3 separate regions of the Homo sapiens genome follow, and regions 2 and 3 are each linked to region 1. The links are contacts of gene promoters, found by promoter capture Hi-C in blood cells and fetal thymus (Javierre and others, 2016). All regions are on one chromosome and are shown on one strand. Each heading gives the region's core, a stretch centred on a gene start or on the middle of the fragment in contact. The rest is flanking DNA. Distances are from core to core; before and after follow the strand shown. Region 1 holds the start of OCIAD1-AS1 (OCIAD1 antisense RNA 1). Region 2 overlaps FRYL (FRY like transcription coactivator). Region 3 overlaps FRYL (FRY like transcription coactivator).

The links. The method cuts DNA at HindIII sites, captures the fragments that hold promoters and counts their contacts. A CHiCAGO score of 5 or more calls a contact.
Region 2: a fragment that was not itself captured here is called in contact with the fragment with the promoter of OCIAD1-AS1 in region 1 in 9 of 17 cell types (naive CD4 T cells, naive CD8 T cells, naive B cells and 6 more); the score reaches 8.0 in naive CD4 T cells.
Region 3: a fragment that was not itself captured here is called in contact with the fragment with the promoter of OCIAD1-AS1 in region 1 in 1 of 17 cell types (endothelial precursors); the score reaches 5.1 in endothelial precursors.

Annotation. Positions count from the first base shown.
Region 1 is chr4:48,858,254-48,861,771 of GRCh38, reverse strand. OCIAD1-AS1 (OCIAD1 antisense RNA 1) reads left to right here and starts at 1,569. Exons shown (of 2, transcript NR_146806.1): 1 at 1,569-1,615. OCIAD1 (OCIA domain containing 1) reads right to left here. Exons shown (of 9, transcript NM_017830.4): 9 at 1-1,047. The coding sequence ends at 1,010. The HindIII fragment of the contact is 4,141 bases long and covers 621-3,518 here.
Region 2 is chr4:48,617,156-48,620,673 of GRCh38, reverse strand. FRYL (FRY like transcription coactivator) reads left to right here. Exons shown (of 64, transcript NM_015030.2): 6 at 1-35; 7 at 1,304-1,400. Among named protein-coding and RNA genes, the nearest start is that of ZAR1, 130 kb to the right of the region's middle. The HindIII fragment of the contact is 893 bases long and covers 1,177-2,069 here.
Region 3 is chr4:48,696,451-48,699,968 of GRCh38, reverse strand. All of the region lies in intron 2 of FRYL (FRY like transcription coactivator), which reads left to right. Among named protein-coding and RNA genes, the nearest start is that of FRYL, 82 kb to the left of the region's middle. The HindIII fragment of the contact is 943 bases long and covers 1,244-2,186 here.

The DNA of each region.
Region 1 (3,518 bases), core at 320-2,819:
TAAAAATGCTTTTTAAGGCATTTACCTATTTACTATATTATCAATTTATCTACATAAATCACATTCATTATATTTTTATTTTTTTAGACACAGGGTCTCACTCAGTCGCACAGGCTGGAGTTCAGTGGTGTGACCACAGCTCACTGCAACCCAGAACCACTGGGTTCAACTGATCCTCCCAACTCAGCCTCTTAAGTAACTAGGACTACAGGCACACGACACCATCGCCAGCTAATTTTTATTTTTTTGTAAAGACAGGGTCTCGCTTTGTTGCCCAGGCTGGTCTCAAACTCCTGGACTCATGCAATCCTCCCACTTCGGCCTCCCAAAGTGCTGGGATTACAGGCATGAACCACTGCCCACTGCCTCCAGCCATATTATAGATTTATAGCCATATTATAGCCATATTATAGAAATATTATAGATGACTTTATTTCCTATACCTACATGATTATAACTAGCTTAAAAATAAATCAATAAATTACAAACAATAAAACCATAAAATCAAGGAAGATGAGGGCTGTTGCATGTTCCTTTACATTTTATTTGCCATAAACATTAAGATAATACAGAAAATACTGGAGAAAAAAAGCTTTTTAATAATTTCTTGATGCAAAGCTTCACACTTAAAAATTATGCTTGCTCCCCCCATCCACCCCAATTCAACATGCAGATATCATTTATTTTCTTATATGCTGATTCTAGAGCATTGTAATCTCGACGGTTTTTTAAGAGTTATCTTTGCCCTTGCAACAATTTCACAAACTGTATACAATCATGGTATAATACCATCATTCAAATGAATCCCTAAGGTGAGTACATTTACACAATATTAACACTAAAAATCTGTGTTTTTTTAAAACACCATAGAAGTCAAACCACAAAAACCCAGGATCTTGTTTTAAATGTGTTTATGAAGACTGCTGCTGAGCTCAAAGCATGCAGGTAATCATGACCACCTAGATGAAGCTGGATGTTGAAACTCCTTCATGTCCAATGATGTAATTTTTCACTCATCCCAAGTATCTCCATACTTGTTTACTTTGACTAGGAAAAAAGCATAAATAATTGATGATTCCAAGCAATAATAAGTAAAAGACATTATTTTAAGTTTGTTGCTATGATGAAAAGTTATGTTTCTCTCTCATTTGAATAAAAGCACATGAGAGTCAAATTATAATTACAAAAAGGGGATGACCAGACTTTTGTGAACTTGGGGTTGGACAAATGCATTGTATCTAGAATTTTACATAAATAGTTAGTCCTCATAACAAACTTCTAAACACAATTCTCATTTTAATGGTGAGAAAAAAGATTAGTAACTTGCCCAAGGTACAAGCCCTAACAAGAACTGAGATTTGAGTATAGGTCTGTTTAGATCCAAAGCCTAGGTACCTTTACATCTTTACCATACTACCTAAGTGTGGCACATATTAAGCCATATACAAAAAAAAAAAAAAATAGTGGGAAATAATAAAACAAACATTTGAATTTTCGTTTTTCACAAAAAATACAGCAGTAGAAATGGTCAAGTGTTCAAGTTGTAATTAATTCAATCTTCTCTCTCAGGGCTGTAAATACTACTATAAGAAGAAAATACTACTACATTTTACAGGTACTCTATATTTTACATTTTAAAACATGCTCCGCTGTCTATTCTACTCCTTTACTTTTTTGCTTCTCTTCCACATAGCTTCTGTCTGTGAGTAATCATAACAATATAAAGCAGCAGTTATCACAGTGTGGACTCTTCAGGGAATACATGAAGTCAAAATTATTTCATTATTATACTAAGACATTATATATCCTTATGTTTCACATTTTGCCTTTTCCCCTTGCTCTCATTCCCTCATGAGTATATGTTACATGGTTTTCTAGAAGCTACAGGATGTGTGGTGACATTGCTCTGGCAGCTAATGGAATATGTGCTTGAATTTTTTAAATTTCTGGGTCTTAATTTCTAATTAGATAAATATCAACCACATAAGCTAAAGGTGAAAACTTTAAGTGACACTTTCTGACCATGTGAATCTACCCTGTACTAATTTCAACAATAATTCAGAAAATGACTGAAACTATTTCATAACAAGTCTTTTCTTTAAATTATATAAAGCACACAAAAAACCAGCTTTTCCCAAAAAAAGAAAAAATCATTTCACATTCTTGTGTCATGTAACAGAACTTGAAGACTTCAGTCAAAAATCAAAAATGTCAAAATCCAGCAAATGTTAAAGGTCTACCAAATTTCCTTTCTTAACCTCTATTACCATAGAAGCCTAAACCAAAATACTCAATTTCTGATACAGTGTAAAGTACTATGCTATGCAGACAATAATAGAAAAGATTACAAAAATGAGAAAAATATTACTTTCTGCCCTCACAGAGCTTACAATCTAAATCCTCAAATTAATTAGCAGGACAAAGTACCGACAAGTCTTTACATATTACAGAGCAATGGCCACTAGATGCAGTTTATGCTAAATGTTGTTTGATGACAAACATTCAAAAGTATGGTACATCCCTAATTCATTTCAAAGGTAGATTTTTTTTACATCAATAATATGATGCAGATATTATCTATCATTGTTATAAAAACAGAACTCCAAACGAAGCAACCGCTAATGATTAAAAATAAAATTAGCTCTAAAAAATGACCATAACAACAAATACTAAGGACTTTCATGTATTTTTGCATTCTTTGTGGCATATGACCTTCAAGAAGGTACCAAAGACCTATTATTTCCATTTTTAAAGTAGTAAATAGAAAATCTTGAAACAATGACACATACTCTGAAATTCCTTAAGAGAAAATCATAAAACCCTATACTGAAATAGCTATAAAACCCTATTCGAATGTCCTCTTCCTTTAGAGGTAAACTTGTATCAAAAAATTTACTTTGGCTAATGTATAGCTATTCCAAAAAGACTTAAAAGAAACCAGGATTTAAAAATTCATCTTTAAGAAATGCCTTAGAAGCTGGCATATAACTCTTTCAAATTCACAAATGTACAAGAAAGGTCAGGCACAGTGGCTCCCACCTATAATCCCAGCATTCTGGGAGGCCAAGGTGAAAGGACTGGTTGAGCCCAGGAGTTTGAGACCAGCCTTGGCAACATAGGGAAAAACCCACTGCACCAAAAAAAATTTTTAACAGCCAGGGATGGTGGCATACAACTGTAGTCCCAGCTACTCAGGAAGCTGAGGTAGGAGGACTGCTTGAACCCAGGAGGTCAAGACTGCAGTAAGCCATGATTACACCACTGCACTCCAGCCTGGGTGACAGAATAAAACCATCTCAAAAAGAAAAAACAAACAAACAGAACAAAAAAACACGAGAAAAACCCAAATGTACAAGAAAATCAATCTCATTACTCAATCATTCTGTGGTTAGGCCACAAGTGGTATTACAGCGCAACGCCAACCTCAGGTCACTACAGCAACTTATGCGATAGATGTATCATTAGGAAAATAAGACTATCAGATCTCCAAGGAGATTTGTTGTAAGAGAGAAACAGTC
Region 2 (3,518 bases), core at 374-2,873, 240 kb after region 1:
GAATATAGGCCTCGGTCTAGCACAAAGTCTAAGGGGTAAGTGCTTTATTTTACACTGTTTCACCTGGAATTAACACACTTCCAATGAAGGGGTGATATTATCAACTGAAGGTTGTTATTGTTTGATTCCTAAGCAAACTGCGTTGATTACTTTTGTTACAAAGATGGTAGTAAGGGAGAAGGATAGTTCACACATAAACTGTAAATCAAGAGAAGGTACCAGTTAAACTAGATGTAGCCCTACAGTACTCATACTGGGTATCATGCAAAAATTAGTAATACAAAAACCTATTTAGGAGTGCCATTTCAGCAGTTCAGTGAGGAGCTTTTAATAGTCATAAAGTTAAGAAAATATTCAAAGAAGTTCCTGTTCATATGGTTTATGAAGGGAGGCAATTATTGTAATACAGGAAGACTGCCAAAACCCTGTGTTATAATAGTACTATGATACTGTTCTTGGAGCTCAATTCCTAGAACTTGTTTTCTTCTCCTTCAAATTTCCCAGGATGATCTTGTCATGCATGTAAGAGCCACGTGTGTTCAGGTGATTGTCCATGGTTTAGTGTTGGACTTCAGTAGATGCCACTTGTGATTTTTCAACTTAAATTTGTGAGAAGGATACCTTGTACTGTATTTTCATGTTGAAAAGTTAATACTTTTGTTTCAGTTCTTAACAAAATACTAGTAATCAAATATGGAACAATGCTACATTTTCTAAATGAAATTTAAAATACTTTTCTTCTTCTTACTAATTCTTTTAGGTTAAGTTTAAATGCTAACAGATATAATAGTGAACTCTGAATAAACACCCCGTATATAAAAAGGGAAAGAACATAAAAACATGTTTTTGCATATGTTGGATTATTAAAAAGCTTCAGACCAGGCACTGTGACTTATGCTTGTAATCTGCTTTAGGAGGCTCAGGCAGGAGGATCACTTGAACCCAGGAATTTGAGACCAGTCTGGGCAATATAGGGAGATCCCTTCTCTAGAAAAAATAAAATTAGCTGGGCATGGTGGCGCTTGCCTGTAGTCTAGCTACTTGGGGTGGGAGGATCACATGAACCCAGGAGGTTGAAGCTGCGGTGGGCCATGTTTGCAGCATTGCACTCCAGCCTGGGTGACAGAACGAGACCCTGTCTCAAACCAAAAAGACAAAAATAAAAAACAAAAAGCTTCATATTAACAATTGCTGTAGCACATTTTACATAGTAGGAAAACAGTAAGCGACATGAGCTACTAACTAACAGGTATTTTTAAAGTCATAATCTTAATGCAGTACTAATTTTGGATTCTTGTTTCAGGGATGAACAGCAACGTGAAAGAGATTATCTTCTTGAAAGGAGGGACTTAGCAGTAGACTTCATTTTTTGTTTAGTTTTAGTTGAAGTTCTAAAGCAGGTAAGCTCTTTTATTTCTGCAAAGTCTGTATTCCTTATTCTTTGCTTACTGTGCCTTCGTGTTTCAGTTACTTTAAGATGCTGTGTCTAGAATTTTAGCCCACATAAATTAAATTCCTGTAATTTCATTATACTTCTTTCAGTTGCCTGGGGCTTTCCTGCCCTGTACCTATCTGTTATCTCCTCTATTTTTTACCTTTGTATGCTTATCCAAGATATAAAATCTTGTTAGCAAAATGGAGCTGAATGGAAATTGTGTTAATATTGACCTTTAGCTGTAAATGTAGTTTGCCTGCCATTCAGCTACTTCAGTCCCTTATTCCACTTTATTTCTCCTCTAAGCCCCCAAGCCTGCATTCCAACATGTAATAATTGTGCACTTTTAGTAGAGGCATGGGGTGATTTGATAAGGGTACTGAATTGTCATGTGCAAATGTTTTTCAGTCAAGTGAGAATACTTCAGATAATAAGTTAGGAATGTTTATTCATTCAATGAGTATTAGAATGCCTACTGTGTGCTGGCACTGTTTTAGGCAATAAACTCATGAGCTTGCACTTGAATGGGATAGATACACAGTAAAGATATGAATATATAATATAGTGTCAGGTATAGTCTTAATATTTTTATTACTCCAGATCAGTATAAATGCCTGTGCTGAATTTGAAAGCTTTTTTTTTTTTTTTTTTTAAAGATCATGGTCTTTAAAGTTATATCATTCAAGGATGATCCATGTATTTCCAGGCACGAACATTGTATTCTTTTGAAACAAGTTAGGAAGCCTAAAGGTCAGAGTCATATTTTGGATATGACACATTTGGACAGGGAGTTTTGTTTTTGTTACATAGAAAGGAATATGTGACAAACAGCAAATACAAGATATAAAATTAATTGACAGTCTGTTTTTCTCATAGTATAAAAGTACTTGAATTATATAATCAGTTTTATTTAGCTTTTATTTTTACAAGGAATATGAAAAGACAGTTCTTTGGTACTCTGAAATCTGCAAATAAACATAATTTTAAATATGTAAAACAGAAGAGTTAATTAAAGGTTAAATCACTTTAATATATGCATTTCATAAACGTTTTTTGGTAGAGGTAGGAAAGAAATCTCCTCTGGGAGTTGTGCTAACAAGCCAAATTTGACTTCTGTGATCTCTTGGTTTAACTGAGATACTAAGACCTTAAGGCAGCAGTCACTAGGATAGGAAGAGCTAAGGACTGGATATGGCCACAGCCCAGCAATGGACTCTGACTACTGCTCATTGTGATTTATCCCTGGTGTATCTTGTGTGCTAAATGTATTTCATTTAAGTGGATTGGTAACCAGTATTTGTACTTTTTTGCTTAAACAGTATAGGGTTTCTTCCTCCAGCCAGAGAAATGGCAGACTCCCTACATTAGCATTCAGGAACCCCAGTGACCTGGCCCCATTGTGCCTTCCTCCTTCGTTCATTTCCCATGGCATCCTTTTCTTAGATGTCAGTCTCGCTCCTCATCCTAAAGTTGCCCAATTGCACTGGCTTCAGAACTACAATTCACAGGCAACCCTGTGGAGGCATTTTTCCCATCTCTTCCCCCTCATCCTCCCTGTCCTCTTCCCCTCCTTGTTGCCTTTGTAGCCCTCCTCCTCCTCTTTTAACACAGTCCAGATAGGTCTTCATGTAGGGGAAAAAAAAGAAAAAAAAAGACCTATAAACATAACACTTTTTTTAGTAGTGGGGACCCCATCTCTACAAAATATAAAAAAATTAAAAAATTATCTGGGTGTGGTGGTATGTGCCTGTAGGCATAGCTACTCTGGAGGCTGAGGCAGGAGGATCACCTGAGCCTAGGGATTTGAGGTTACAGTTAGCTATGACTGCACCACTGTACTCCAGCCTGGGTGACAGTGCAAGACCCTGTCTCTTTAAAAAAAAAAAAAAAATCTTTTTTTTTTTCTTTGGTGGACTCATTGTTCACATTCACTGCACTGCACAAAATCATTTCTGACCCATGGTTCACATGGACTGAAAGTGAAAAAGAAATACAGTGGCCTTGATAGCTAATCTTTGTCTTTGGATCTGTCACCATATTATTCCAACCTATAGTATCCTTTCTACTTACTTCTTCCCCTCTG
Region 3 (3,518 bases), core at 466-2,965, 160 kb after region 1:
TTGTCTTTTTGCTTTACTCTAATAAATATTCTAGTTAACATTAATATCTAGCTTAATATGATTTAAATGTATGTTAAAATTCTTAAGAGTAGTAGCAAATCTAGATTGGGAACTGGATCTGTAGACAATATTCAAAAGATACAATTCAGATGACCCTGAACACCAGTAAACTGATCCAGGGGCCAAATATTCTCTCAAAATAGAGGAGGAAAAAGGAAAAGAGGCATGTAGGGACCCAGAAGAAGAAGGGCGATTTATGTGGAGTGGAGGGAATTTTCATGTTAAACCACAGGTAGGGCTTGTTTACTTTGTCACATTTTCCCTGTAATAGAGAAACTGCTGAGCCAGAATTGTGCAACTGATTGAATTAGCACCTTGTTTAAATTGTTAGCATCCATCTTTGAGAAGCATGTATTTTAGATTAAAGATTTAAAAATCTTGGCTGAAACAAAGGACAATCTCTTTCCTTTATGAAGTTGTTCATTGAACTTTAAATAGTAAGATATTAACAGATGAGGATTGAATTTAGTCTTCAAATAAGCATCTCTGTGATTTGTTGGTCACAGTATGATCTCTTTCCCATCCCCCACTATTTTTTACTTTTGATAGGGCAAACTCTTATGTTTTCATGAAATATTTAAAGCAAATGATGTGTTAATTATGTTTAGTTATCCTTTTTGAGAGTTCTCTAGCTTTTTCTGTTCTGAGGTTCAGAATCAATATAAGGACATATTGAAATCATAATTGCATTTTATCTTCCAAACAGCCATTGAAAATAATTGCATTTTAATTTGAGAATTTTATCTCAACTCCATATAACAGCTTATACTTTAAAATATAATCCAGAGGTACAGTACTTTTCAGTTCATTTATTAGCTTTGTCAGTTTCCACATTTGTAAAGTTGAACATTTACTGAAATTATGGGCTGGTTTGGGTTAAAATGAAGTAACATATGTGAAGCATCTTAGATGGTCACACATAGTAGGCTCTCGGTAATTAGTCGTTGCTGCTGTTGTTATGGGTATTTAATTAACTTGGATTTCTAGGGCACCATTTGTTAGAGTGCAGTGAACCAATTCTGAATTCTACCCTCCTATATTTGTTACTTGTTTAGACTGACTTAACCACTGTGGAGAATAAAGCCTATTTGTGGGGGTTGGGGTGGGGGTGGTGCCTACTGACTCTTATATGCATGTTTTTTCAGAGTTACAGGATGTGTACTGGAATGTGAAGGATTAAGCTTTGTGGTGGCATGTTCTATATGGTCATCCATAGTGACCAAACTAATTTGGAATGTTGTTTTGTTACTAACTTGGAAATGTGTTATTTTCTCTACAGAGGATGTTGATCTGAATAAACTGCTTATTATGCTTTATACATTTCTAGAGCGAGAGGAACTGTCAATCAGTGTAAATCTCACCCAGCACAGTATTTTCTTTCACAAACATGGGGAGGAGGCAATACCAAGATAACCACTTTTGGGACAGAGCCAGGAGCTGTTGTGTAACTCAGAGGGTGTGTGATAGCATCCAGCTTTGGAGCCCATCACGTCACATTGAGAAATTGTGGCAGGGAGGCTTACAGGAAAAACATCTTGTTTATTAACACCTGAATATGTTACTTATGTAGCTTTTTAAAAGTCATCAGTTAGCTAGCTTCTCAAAGAGAGGCAAGAACCCATTCGCGTAGTTACAGATTGTGGCTATAGTAAGTCTTCTGGTAACAGGAGCTGTGAGCACCACTTCTTCAGTGAAGTCTTTCCTGTTCCCTTCTCCACTCAGGTTGATGACTGTCTCCTTTGTACCTGGTTGCAGCTTGAACATATTTAGGTAACTTCTCTCAAAGCACTTGAAACATGCTACTGCCCATGTCTCCTTTCCAGCTTGTCTGTAAACTCCTTGATGGTAGCAGCTGTGTGTGTAAGTGCCACTGAGTATAGATTCCTGGAGCTTAGGTTGATCCCCAGTAAATGTTAAATGCAGGTCTCCCTGTGCCTGTGGAAATGCCTCAACATCAATTGGTTCAATTGTATCCTTCAACTTGATCACTAACAGGTCTTTAATGAAAAGTCTCCAGAGATGCTATTCCCATTCTGTACTATCCTCATCATTACCATTCTTATTTCTTCTTTGCCAATGCAAATTCTCTATTTCATTTTTTTCTTTAAGTACTTCTCTATGAAGCTTTTTAAAAGTATGCTTCATTTTAGGGCCAGACATGGTGGCTCATGCGAGGCCCATGCGGGTGGATCACCTGAGGTCAGGAGTTTAAGACCAGCGTGACCAGCATAGTGAAACCCCATCTCTACTAAAAATACAAAATTAGTCGGGTGTGGTGGCGTGCACCTGTAATCCCAGCTACTCAGGAGACTGAGGCAGGAGAATTGCTTGAACCCAGGAGGCAGAGGTTGCAGTAAGCTGAGACACCGCAGCCTGGGGGACAGAGTGAGACTCCATCCCAAAAAATAAAAATAGAAGTATGCTTCATTTTAGTTAGTTTATAATCAACATTGAGAAATCCAAGAAAGGTGAGAAATGTAAACTAGAGCTGGAGATTTAAAATTGGCACCTGTAAAAATACATTATTTTTTGAAGTAAAAAAAGTTTGTAAACATTTCCCTTGTTTACAAATCTGAAATTATATTAATTTTGGTAAAATTCTAGATTTTTTCCAAATAAGTCAAAACCTCAAAAGAATGGAAATTTTAGGTAAAATTTAGGTAAAAATGGAAAGAAAGTAAGAGTCATAATTTTCAGGCTGTTATAAGAAATGTCTTTTACTGTATCATATGGTATTTTATAGTATATAAAAATATAGGAATTGACCTTATTATCCTTAGTGTACAAGGTTTTATTGTGGTTTAAAATTCCAAGTCTTCGATGTAGCTTCCTTTATTCTTCTTCTTCAGTTACACCATAATAGTTTATTGAAATTTGATGCATATAGGAAAAAACCTTGTAATTGACTTTTTTTGGAGAAAAATTATTCATTTTAAGACAAAAGCAGAGATTGTTTGAGCCAAAACCTGATGGATTTAAGAGTGCTGTTGATCATGGTTGACTTGTGAAAGTGATAGATAGATAGATAGATAGATAGATAGATAGATAGATAGATAGATAGATCTCTTATCGTTATTTTTCTTTTATACTGGGCTTATGTTTTTTTTTTCTTATTTTCTTGCTTAATAATAGTATCATTAAGCAGGCAGGAGAAAAATAATACCATTGAAACTAAAAGTTAGTAATTTAATTTGATTATGTATATATATATTTTATTATACTTTAAGTTCCGGGATACAAGTGCAGAACGTGTAGGTTTGTTGTATAGGTATACGTGTGCCATAATGGTGTCCTGCACCTATCCCCCCATCATTTAGGTTTTAAGCCCCACATGCATTAGCTATTTGTCCTAGTGTTCTCCCTCTCCTTGCCCCCCACCTGCTGACTGGCCCCAGTGTGTGATGTTCCCCTTCCAGTGTCCACGTGTTCTCGTTGTTTAACTCCCACTTATGAGTGAG